3 separate regions of the Homo sapiens genome follow, and all the other regions are linked to region 3. Evidence: promoter capture Hi-C in 16 types of primary human blood cells and fetal thymus (Javierre and others, 2016). All regions are on one chromosome and are shown on one strand. Each heading gives the region's core, a stretch centred on a gene start or on the middle of the fragment in contact. The rest is flanking DNA. Distances are from core to core; before and after follow the strand shown.

Region 1 (2,852 bases), core at 28-2,527, 1.0 Mb before region 3:
GCCTTACTGATATATTATTTGTAAATATTTTCTCCCATTCTGTGTGTTGTCTTTACACTTTCTTGATGGTATCCTTTTAATCATGAATATTAATTTTGACAAAGCCCAAACAATCTCCTTTTCTGTTTGTTGCTGTGCTTTTGGTATCATAATTAAGGAATCATTTTAAAATAAAAATCACAGTGGTTTGCCTTCTAAGATTAAAGTTTTATTTCTCACAGTTAGGTCTGTGATCCATTTTGAGTTCATGTTTATATGTAATGTGAGGCAAGGGTCCAGATTCATTCTTTTGCATGTGGACTTCCAGTTGTCCCAGCACTATTCGTTGAAAAGAATACTCTTTCCCCATTGAATTTTCTAGGCACTCATCTTGAAAATCAATTGACCATGCATGTGAGAGTTTATTTCTGGACCCTCAATTCCATTCCACTGATCTGTCTGTCCGTCCTCATATAGACAGTACCACATGTTCTTGATCACTGCAGAATTGTAGTTAGCTCTAAAATCAGAGAATGTGAGTCCTCCAATGTCGTTCTTCTTTTTCAAGATTGTGTTGGCTGTTCTCAGTCCCTTACACTTCCTTAAGAATTTTAGTATCAGCTTGTCAATATCTGCAAAAAGACATCTGAGATTTTAATAGGGAATGTGTTCAATCTGTAGATCAGTTTAGGGAATATTGCTATCTGAGTAATATTAACTCTTCTAATCCATGAACATGGGATATTCTTCTATTTATTTAGACCTTCAATTTCTTCCAACAATGATTTTTAGATTTTTAGTCTTTTGGATATAAGGTTTGCTTTTTTTTTTTTTTTTTTTTTTTTTTTTTTTTTTTTTTTTTTTTGAGACAGTGTCTTACTCTGTCTCCCAGGCTGGAGTGCAGTGGTGCCATCTCGGCTCATGGCAACCTCTGCCTCCTGGGTTCAAGCGATCCTCCCACCTCAGCTTCCTGAGTAGCTGGGACTACAGGTGTGTGCTACCACACCTTGCTAATTTTTGTCTTTTTAGTAGAGACAGAGTTTTGCCATGTTGGCCAGGCTGGTCTCGAACTCCTGGCCTCAAGTGATCCACCCACCTCAGCCTCCCAAAGTGCTGGGATTACAGGCGTGAGCCACCTTGCCCAACCTACTTCTTTCATTTATTTTTGAGTATTTTATTCCTTTTTACACTATTGAAATGGAATTGTTTTCTCAATTTTATTTTCATTGTTCAATGCTAGTATATGGAAATACAATTGATTTTTGTATATTGATTTTGTACTCTGAAACTTTGCTGAACTTGTTTGTTCTAATAAATTTTTAGTGGATTCCTTAGGATTATCTGTATACAAGGTCATTACATATGTTTCTTCTTTGTTTCCAATCTGGATACCTTTTATTTCTTTTTCTTACCTAATTGCCCTGGCTAGAACTCAAATACAATGTTGAATAGGAGTGGCAAAAGTGGACATCCCTCTCCTGTTCCTGGTCTTAAGGGGAAAGCAGTCTTTCACTATTACGTATGATGTTAGCTGTGGGGTTTTCATAGATATCTTTTAAAGGGTTGAGAAAGTTCCTTCCTATCCCTAGTTTTTTTTTTTTTTTTTTAGCATTTTTATCATAAAAGGATGTTGAATTTTGTCAAATGCTTCTTCAGTAGAAATAACAGTGTAATTTCCTAACAATCTCTCCAGTGTTTTGCTTGGAGTAAAAAGTCTTGGGGCCACTTCACTAATTTTAGCATTAGCCCCAAGCAAGGAACACCTAAGATCTGCCAAGTCACTGGCTTTGGGACATCTAAGAGCAGAGGAGCACCCCTTTCCCACACACCTTTTACTCCAGCTGGCCTTCCACTTAGACCCCAGTTGAACTGTCCTATTCAAGGGCTGATTCCTATGACCATGGATAATCAAGTCCTGGGAGATCAAGAGTTGAATTTTCATGGCAATCAGATCAGATTCTTTCTTTGCCTTTTGGGGGATGGTTTTTTCTCATCTTGACCATAATTTTCCTCTAATTTCTACTCATGGGCATTTGAACTTGGGCATAAGACATACATATACTGAACTCAATTGTTTTGTAAGTGTTTCACAGGTTTTTATTTTGCCTAGGTAGTCAAGGAGTAATTTTTTTTTTCTTTGAGACAGGGTCTCACTCTGTCTCCCTGGCTGGAGTGCAATGGCTCAATCTCAGCTCACTGCAACCTCCACCTACTGGGCTTAAGTGATCCTCCCCACTTAGCCTCCTAAGTAGCTAGGACCACAGGTGCACACCACCACACCTGGCAATATTTTTGTATTTTTTTGTAGAAATGGGGTTTCACCCATCACTCTGAGCAAACTATCACAAGGACAGAAAACCAAACACCGCATGTTCTCACTCATAGGTGGGAATTGAACAATGGGAACACTTGGACACAGGAAGGGGAACATCACACACTGGGGCCTGTCGTGGAGTGGGGGGAGTGGGGAGGGATAGCATTAGGAGATATACCTAATGTAAACGATGAGTTAATGGGTGCAGCACACCAACATGGCACATGTATACATATGTAACAAAGCTGCATGTTGTGCACATGTACCCTAGAACTTAAAGTATAAAAAAAAAAGAAGTGGGGTTTCATTATATTGCCCAAGCTGGTCTCAAACTCCTGAGCTCAAGTGATCTGCCTGCCTTGGCCCCCGACGTGCTGGGATTACAGGTGCGAGCCACCATGCCCAGCTGAATAAATTCTCTGAGGGCAGAAACCACACCTTTGAGCCTTTCACAGAACCAGGTAAACTATTTGTCACAAAGAACAGACTTGATAAAGACACTTTACGACTAATCTCAACCTTTTAGCAAAACTGTCACATGTGACGTGCTATCCGGCCT
Region 2 (2,955 bases), core at 10-2,509, 1.1 Mb before region 3:
GCTGTTGAAAGATTGAATTTTCCTGAGATTCAGTCGTATCACAGGTCAAAATGTATTTTCTGAATTTCATGCAGTAAAAACCATCACAGAGCCTATAACATTGATGATGATGATGATGATGTTGATACATGTAGTGGGGATAACATGCTCACTAAACATTCTACCTGCCTCTTACATTTCCCGGGTGCTCAGTAGACTAGTTCTGCATGGTGAGACATGTTGGAAGCCAGGTTTGTCACTTCTGGGTGGTGGCAATGAGAAGCCTGGGTAGGTTTCTCTGGGCTCTCTTCCCCTTCTGCTGTATGGGTAGGTCTCTTGGTATAGCTACGAAGTGGTGGTTCCTTGAGGCCATGTGAAGCACAGCTCTCTTCTACCCCTCACCCTATTGACCCATGGTGGGGGCATAGCTTGACTGAGAAATTCAGTTCATTGAGTAAAGCCACTGGGAGTTGGGGGTCCACACGTCACTGCATCATACTTAGCCTATCCTGACTAATGCAACAGCTAACACCTTGTGAGTTCTTACTGCATGCCAGGACCTTTGCATATATTATCTCATTTACTCTTTGTAGTACCCTATAATGTAAATAAGATTGTTATTCTCATCTTGCAGATAAAGAAACTGAGAGGCAGAAAGGTTGAACAATGTGCCCAAAGTCACCCAGTTAGAAAGTGGGAATTGACTTGAATCCAGGCAGTGTAACTGCAGAGCCCACGCTTTTAATCACATATTTTAAGGAACATTCTACTTTATGGATTAAAGTTTTTCATGATAAAGATAAACATAAAATCCTTTGCCATTAAGAAGTCTCTCCCTCATGTTTATCTTAAGAATATCTTTGGGTTAAAAGCAATTTTAAGAGATGCTGTTCCTGACTTGTTTCTCTTTGTCTTCTAATAAGCTCTAATTGAATGATGTTGCAAGCAGGTCTGCTCTCTGGAGCCAGTCTGCTGTCATGCCAACTAATTTAGAAATGTATGGATCTTACTGTTTCAAACCTGAGGCCATATTGATTCTGGAATATGCCCCACTAATTGCTGACAGCCTGATGCTAAGAAAAAAATAGAAGAAAAAAGCTTTCATGTCAATATTTGTTACTAACCTTGATAAATAAACATTATAAGTGATGGTGACTTTTTCCTCTTCTAAAGCTTTAATTACTGGCTTGCACACACTGCCATCATTTTGTTCTTGTTGGTGTTTAATAGTCTGTAATCCATTTTAATTACATTCTTTGCTTATCAAGATCAGACTCCAGAGCGAGGATAGAACAAAATTTAACTTCTGCCTTTTCCCCCCGTCTCTATCCAGTACCTTAAAAATATTCTGGGATTTAAAAACATCTTAAAGATAAAAATTTATCTTTAAGCTTAAAGCAAACAAGCAAACCATTAAAAGGAAGTTTCTTGCTACTTTTGCCAATTTATCAGTCCATTGACAAAAGCAACTGGACACACCTGCTTCCTCTATTAACCTTAGAATCTGAAGCTTGCAGAGAATTTTGAGAGAGTAGGGGTGGCATGGGGAGGAGAGGACTTCTAGGGTGAGGAAAATGTTCTCTTTCTTGACCTGGGGTGGTGAGTACAGAGTGCTTTGTTTTGTAATAATTCCTTGATCTTGTGCATTTATGTTGTGTGCACCTTTCCACATATGTGATACATGTCTATAAAAATGTTACTTAAAGCACTGAACGTGGCTAGGTTTCCAGGGTTTTTCAGTGGTTTTGTTAAGGGTAGTCATTTGAAGGTAGCCAAGCTCTTTTTTTGTTGCCACTTCTGATGATTATACTATTTTCATTTTTTATATCTGTATTTACAAGAGTAAGAATTATAAGGAAAAATGACTGTCATGCAGAAAAACACTACCACAAACGAAAAAATACTCTTTCGCTTACCTAACAGTCCCAGGTGGAAGCTCCTGGTCAGTGAGAGCCCTTCCACACAGTGATTCAGGGATCAAGCCTCAGATTGCAAGGCAGAATTGACAGCCTCAGCCTACTCAAAGGGAGATCTAGAGTAAAGATTATCCACTGGAGCAGTCCTGCACTGGGCAGAGATGGCCGGCTCCACTATCCCGCCATGCTCGGTCATTGCCTGAGGGGTGCCCTAGAAGAGGGCTTCAGCTCTAAAGCTACTTGTAGTCCTTGAAGCTGAATGGCAGTTATTTCTTGAAAGGTGATATGAGTGGTACACCTTCATGACTGTCACAAATGCTCTATAATGGAAGGGGAAGCACCTTTTTTTTTGGTGATCAGGAAGCCTCTTTGCCATAGTGGTAGCGGGCAGATTTGAACTTGACTCCAGAACCATGCTGGCGTGACTTCCCCCAGGTGCTGACCTGCCTTTCACTGCCCTTGAAATGTCCCACTGCCTCATTGTCTGTGGCCCATTAGGGGACTTTTTAATTTTACTCCCCAGCATTTATTCCTTTTTTTTTTAATGAAAGCCTCCATTTTTGTATGGAAAGCCCACCCCCACCCCACCCCAATTCTTAGTCCATGTGGTTTGGTTGGCCACCTTATCTCCACTGATCCAGCTCTATGGTTATTCCTATCCCTTAGCCAGAAGGAAGCTTTCCGTGTTGGGCACATGACCTAACCAGGGACAGGGACTTCTGCTAAGCATGCTCATCTACAAGAGGGTGACTCAGAGAGGATGCAGGCTGGAGTTGTGCAGCCATCTTGTCACTATGGTGGGGGAGCTTGGAGCAGCTGGGACCACTGTGGGAAGCATGAGGGTGAAGCCAACATGGTGGAAAGCAGATCTAAATCTGGAGAGAAACCGGGTCTTACGGAGTATGTCTGAGCCTGAAATCTCTGTGTCTGAACCCAGACGTGGATTCCTCCACGTCTTAGTAAAAAGTTTCCTTTTTACTCAAGCCACTTTGAATTGGTTTCAGTCCCTTTCACCTGAAAGTGTCCTAATAAAGTCCAACCATCAGACCTGAAACACACC
Region 3 (2,733 bases), core at 35-2,534:
GGAGGCGGGCGACAGGGTGGAGTCGCCGCAGCTGGCAGCCGCACGGCTCTACCTGTTGCAGCGTCGGAGCGCGCCCGCCTGAGAAGGCAGAGCGCGGTGCGGACCTGTGCTCCGCGCGCCGGCTGGCAGGGCAGGGCCGCGGCTGCCAGGAGGCCCGGGAACAGTCCCGACGGAGCGGCGCGGAGAGGGCGCTCCCCGGAAGGTGAGATCTGAGCGCGGCAGCGGCGCCAGCGCCCGCTACAAGGCGGGGTCTCGGGGAGGGGGCCCCGGCGGTTTGCTGGAGAGCCTTGCTACTGTTCTGCATGAGGTGGGGGATGCCTTCTGCGCGGACCCCGCGTCCAGGCAAAACTCTGGAACGCACTAGGCAGCCAAGCCCGGGGGGAAGAGATGGAACGCTCCAAGGTCAAGGTCTCCTGGCCGCGGAGCCCTTCCAGCCCCCAGTGTTTGGCCTCCTCTCCGGAAGCGGGGCTGGCTCGCGGTGCGCGCTTGGTCCGGGCGGAGCCTACTAGTAGGCGCAGAGGACGCCCCCGCGCAGGATCCAGAGACCAAGGGCGCTCTGGCATGGTCAAGGCGAGGGAGGCTGCCCGGGGGAGAAGCCCCTAACTTCCTTTGCTCCCTGTTCCAACCTCCCTTTCTGGTCTCCTCTCTCCAGCCCGTCCGCCCAACGGATGCGCAGCGTTGGGGCCCGGCCGGAGGTCGGAGCCCTCGGACGCCGCAGCCCTCGGACGCCGCTCAGCACAGCCCCTCTCTCCGTGCGCCCGCCCTGGACCCCCTCCATCCCTAAGCCCCGGCAGCCGATTCGGAGACTCGGGAGGCCACAGGCTCAGCGCGACACCACGACCACAACTAGGAGGCACCATCGTCGATCTACCTGGGGAGGCACCTACAAAGCCAGCAGACTGACACCCGTGTCCTAGCCGTCGGCGGCCTGCGAAGCGATAGTCAAAGGAACCAGGACCCAGGACCCCGGCGCTCTGCTTACCCGCAGACCTCCGGACCGCGCCCCCCCCCCGCCGCCCCGCCCCGCCCCGCCCCGCCCCGCGACCGTCTCTTTGCGGGAAACTCGAGTTGGCTCGAGCTTGCCCTGAAGACGCGCCACGCCCCCTCCCCTATCTGAGCCGGACAGGGAGCCGGGGTGGAAACTGCGCCCGCATCCCAGCGCCAAGCAGACGTGAACTCTGCGCCCGTTCCCCGGGACCTTCAGCGTTAAGGAGAACTCCGAGGAGAGCAGGGGGAGTGGAGGGGAACGGCGGCGACAAAGCGGATTTGAAACTAGGAGTCAAGGAGGACGTGGGGAGCTGGCGCCACAGGAGCTACCGAGGCGGCGGCCGGGGGAGCCTCGCGGCCTGCGGGAGAGCCCGGCGGTCATGGGCGAGCCGGCGGTGGGGCGCCCGGGAGCTGGCTGAGCGCCGGGGCCCTTATTTCCCGGGGGTGTGGGCGAGACTCCGCCGACGCCCGGTGCCGTGGGCCTGGGGGCTGCCCCCGGGGGCCCGGCCATGGCTGGCCGGGGTTTCAGCTGGGGCCCGGGCCACCTGAACGAGGACAACGCGCGCTTTCTGCTGCTGGCCGCGCTCATCGTGCTCTACCTGCTGGGCGGCGCCGCCGTCTTCTCCGCGCTGGAGCTGGCGCACGAGCGCCAGGCCAAGCAGCGCTGGGAGGAGCGCCTGGCCAACTTCAGCCGCGGCCACAACCTGAGCCGCGACGAGCTGCGCGGCTTCCTCCGCCACTACGAGGAGGCCACTCGGGCCGGCATCCGCGTGGACAACGTCCGCCCGCGCTGGGACTTCACCGGCGCCTTCTACTTCGTGGGCACCGTCGTTTCCACCATAGGTAAGTGTGCTGGCCGGACTCGCTGACAACCTCCGGGCGGCCTCCACTTCCTCCGGGGGGCAGGACCGACCCTCTCATCCTTTCATTCATCCATCTGGGCGCCCAGCCAGACTCCACTGACATGAGCTGTCGCCTGATCAACAGGTGGTATTGCCTCCCCGCTGCTCTAATGTGGTCCAGGCACCGGCAGCTTCAGCGTCACCTGGCAGCTTGTTAGAAATGCAGTCTCAGTCCCCTCTGCAGACCTGCCGAGTCAGAATCTGCATGTTAACAAAGTCCCCAAAGGATTGGAATGATCCTTAAATTGGAGACGCTCTGCTCTGGGAGATTTTCAGTCTAATGAAGGAGACACGGCTTGAGTTCATGGGGAAGAAGGCTTTTACAGATAGGGACAGGAAACTAAACATTTACTGAGTCAGTCAGAGGGGAAGTGCAGATTTTAAAAGATTCTGCCCTCGACTTCACACTTACCGAGAAAAAATCAGAACAGCAGACTGAAAGTGAGGAAGCAAAAGTGCCAATGACGGTTCAAAAGATGGAAAATTTTCCACCAGGAAGAACCAGGGAAGTGACCTTTGGGCTGAATCAATTCGTGTTAGGCATAACTTGGGTTTGGGAACTGAAAGCGCGGTTGCACTCTAGAGTAGGAGAGAATCGCACTCAGGGGCCCCATGAGCTGGTTGGAGTGGTGGAAGGAAGACTAGGAAGGTCTGCTGGCTAATGGGATGGAGGCGGGGGTAGGACCTTCACTGACAGACTGAGGAGCTGGAATTTACCTAGAGGCACCTGGGAGCCATTGAGAATTTTTTAGCAAAGATGTAGCACAGCTACAATCAGCTGTGTTTATTTCCCAGCAGAAGGAAAATGATTTGGGGGAGTCTGCGCCACACCCCTAAAGATTGT

The links. Contacts are between HindIII fragments. The CHiCAGO score rates a contact against its expected background, and 5 or more counts as called.
Region 1: a contact is called between a fragment that was not itself captured here and the fragment with the promoter of KCNK13 in region 3, in 1 of 17 cell types (naive CD8 T cells). The highest score is 6.2, in naive CD8 T cells.
Region 2: a contact is called between a fragment that was not itself captured here and the fragment with the promoter of KCNK13 in region 3, in 5 of 17 cell types (non-activated CD4 T cells, total B cells, total CD8 T cells and 2 more). The highest score is 7.5, in non-activated CD4 T cells.

Annotation. Positions count from the first base shown.
Region 1 is chr14:89,019,307-89,022,158 of GRCh38, forward strand. The region is part of intron 1 of LOC124903356 (a long non-coding RNA gene); the gene reads left to right. Among named protein-coding and RNA genes, the nearest start is that of TRA-AGC15-1, 42 kb to the left of the region's middle. The HindIII fragment of the contact is 4,022 bases long and covers 1-2,852 here.
Region 2 is chr14:88,997,322-89,000,276 of GRCh38, forward strand. No RefSeq gene overlaps it. Among named protein-coding and RNA genes, the nearest start is that of TRA-AGC15-1, 20 kb to the left of the region's middle. The HindIII fragment of the contact is 218 bases long and covers 1,151-1,368 here.
Region 3 is chr14:90,060,710-90,063,442 of GRCh38, forward strand. KCNK13 (potassium two pore domain channel subfamily K member 13) reads left to right here and starts at 1,285. Exons shown (of 2, transcript NM_022054.4): 1 at 1,285-1,830. The coding sequence starts at 1,497. LOC124903406 reads left to right here. Exons shown (of 3, transcript XM_047432048.1): 2 at 1-202; 3 at 653-1,024. The coding sequence ends at 917. RefSeq lists enhancers at 226-727, 728-1,227. The HindIII fragment of the contact is 16,748 bases long and covers 1-2,733 here.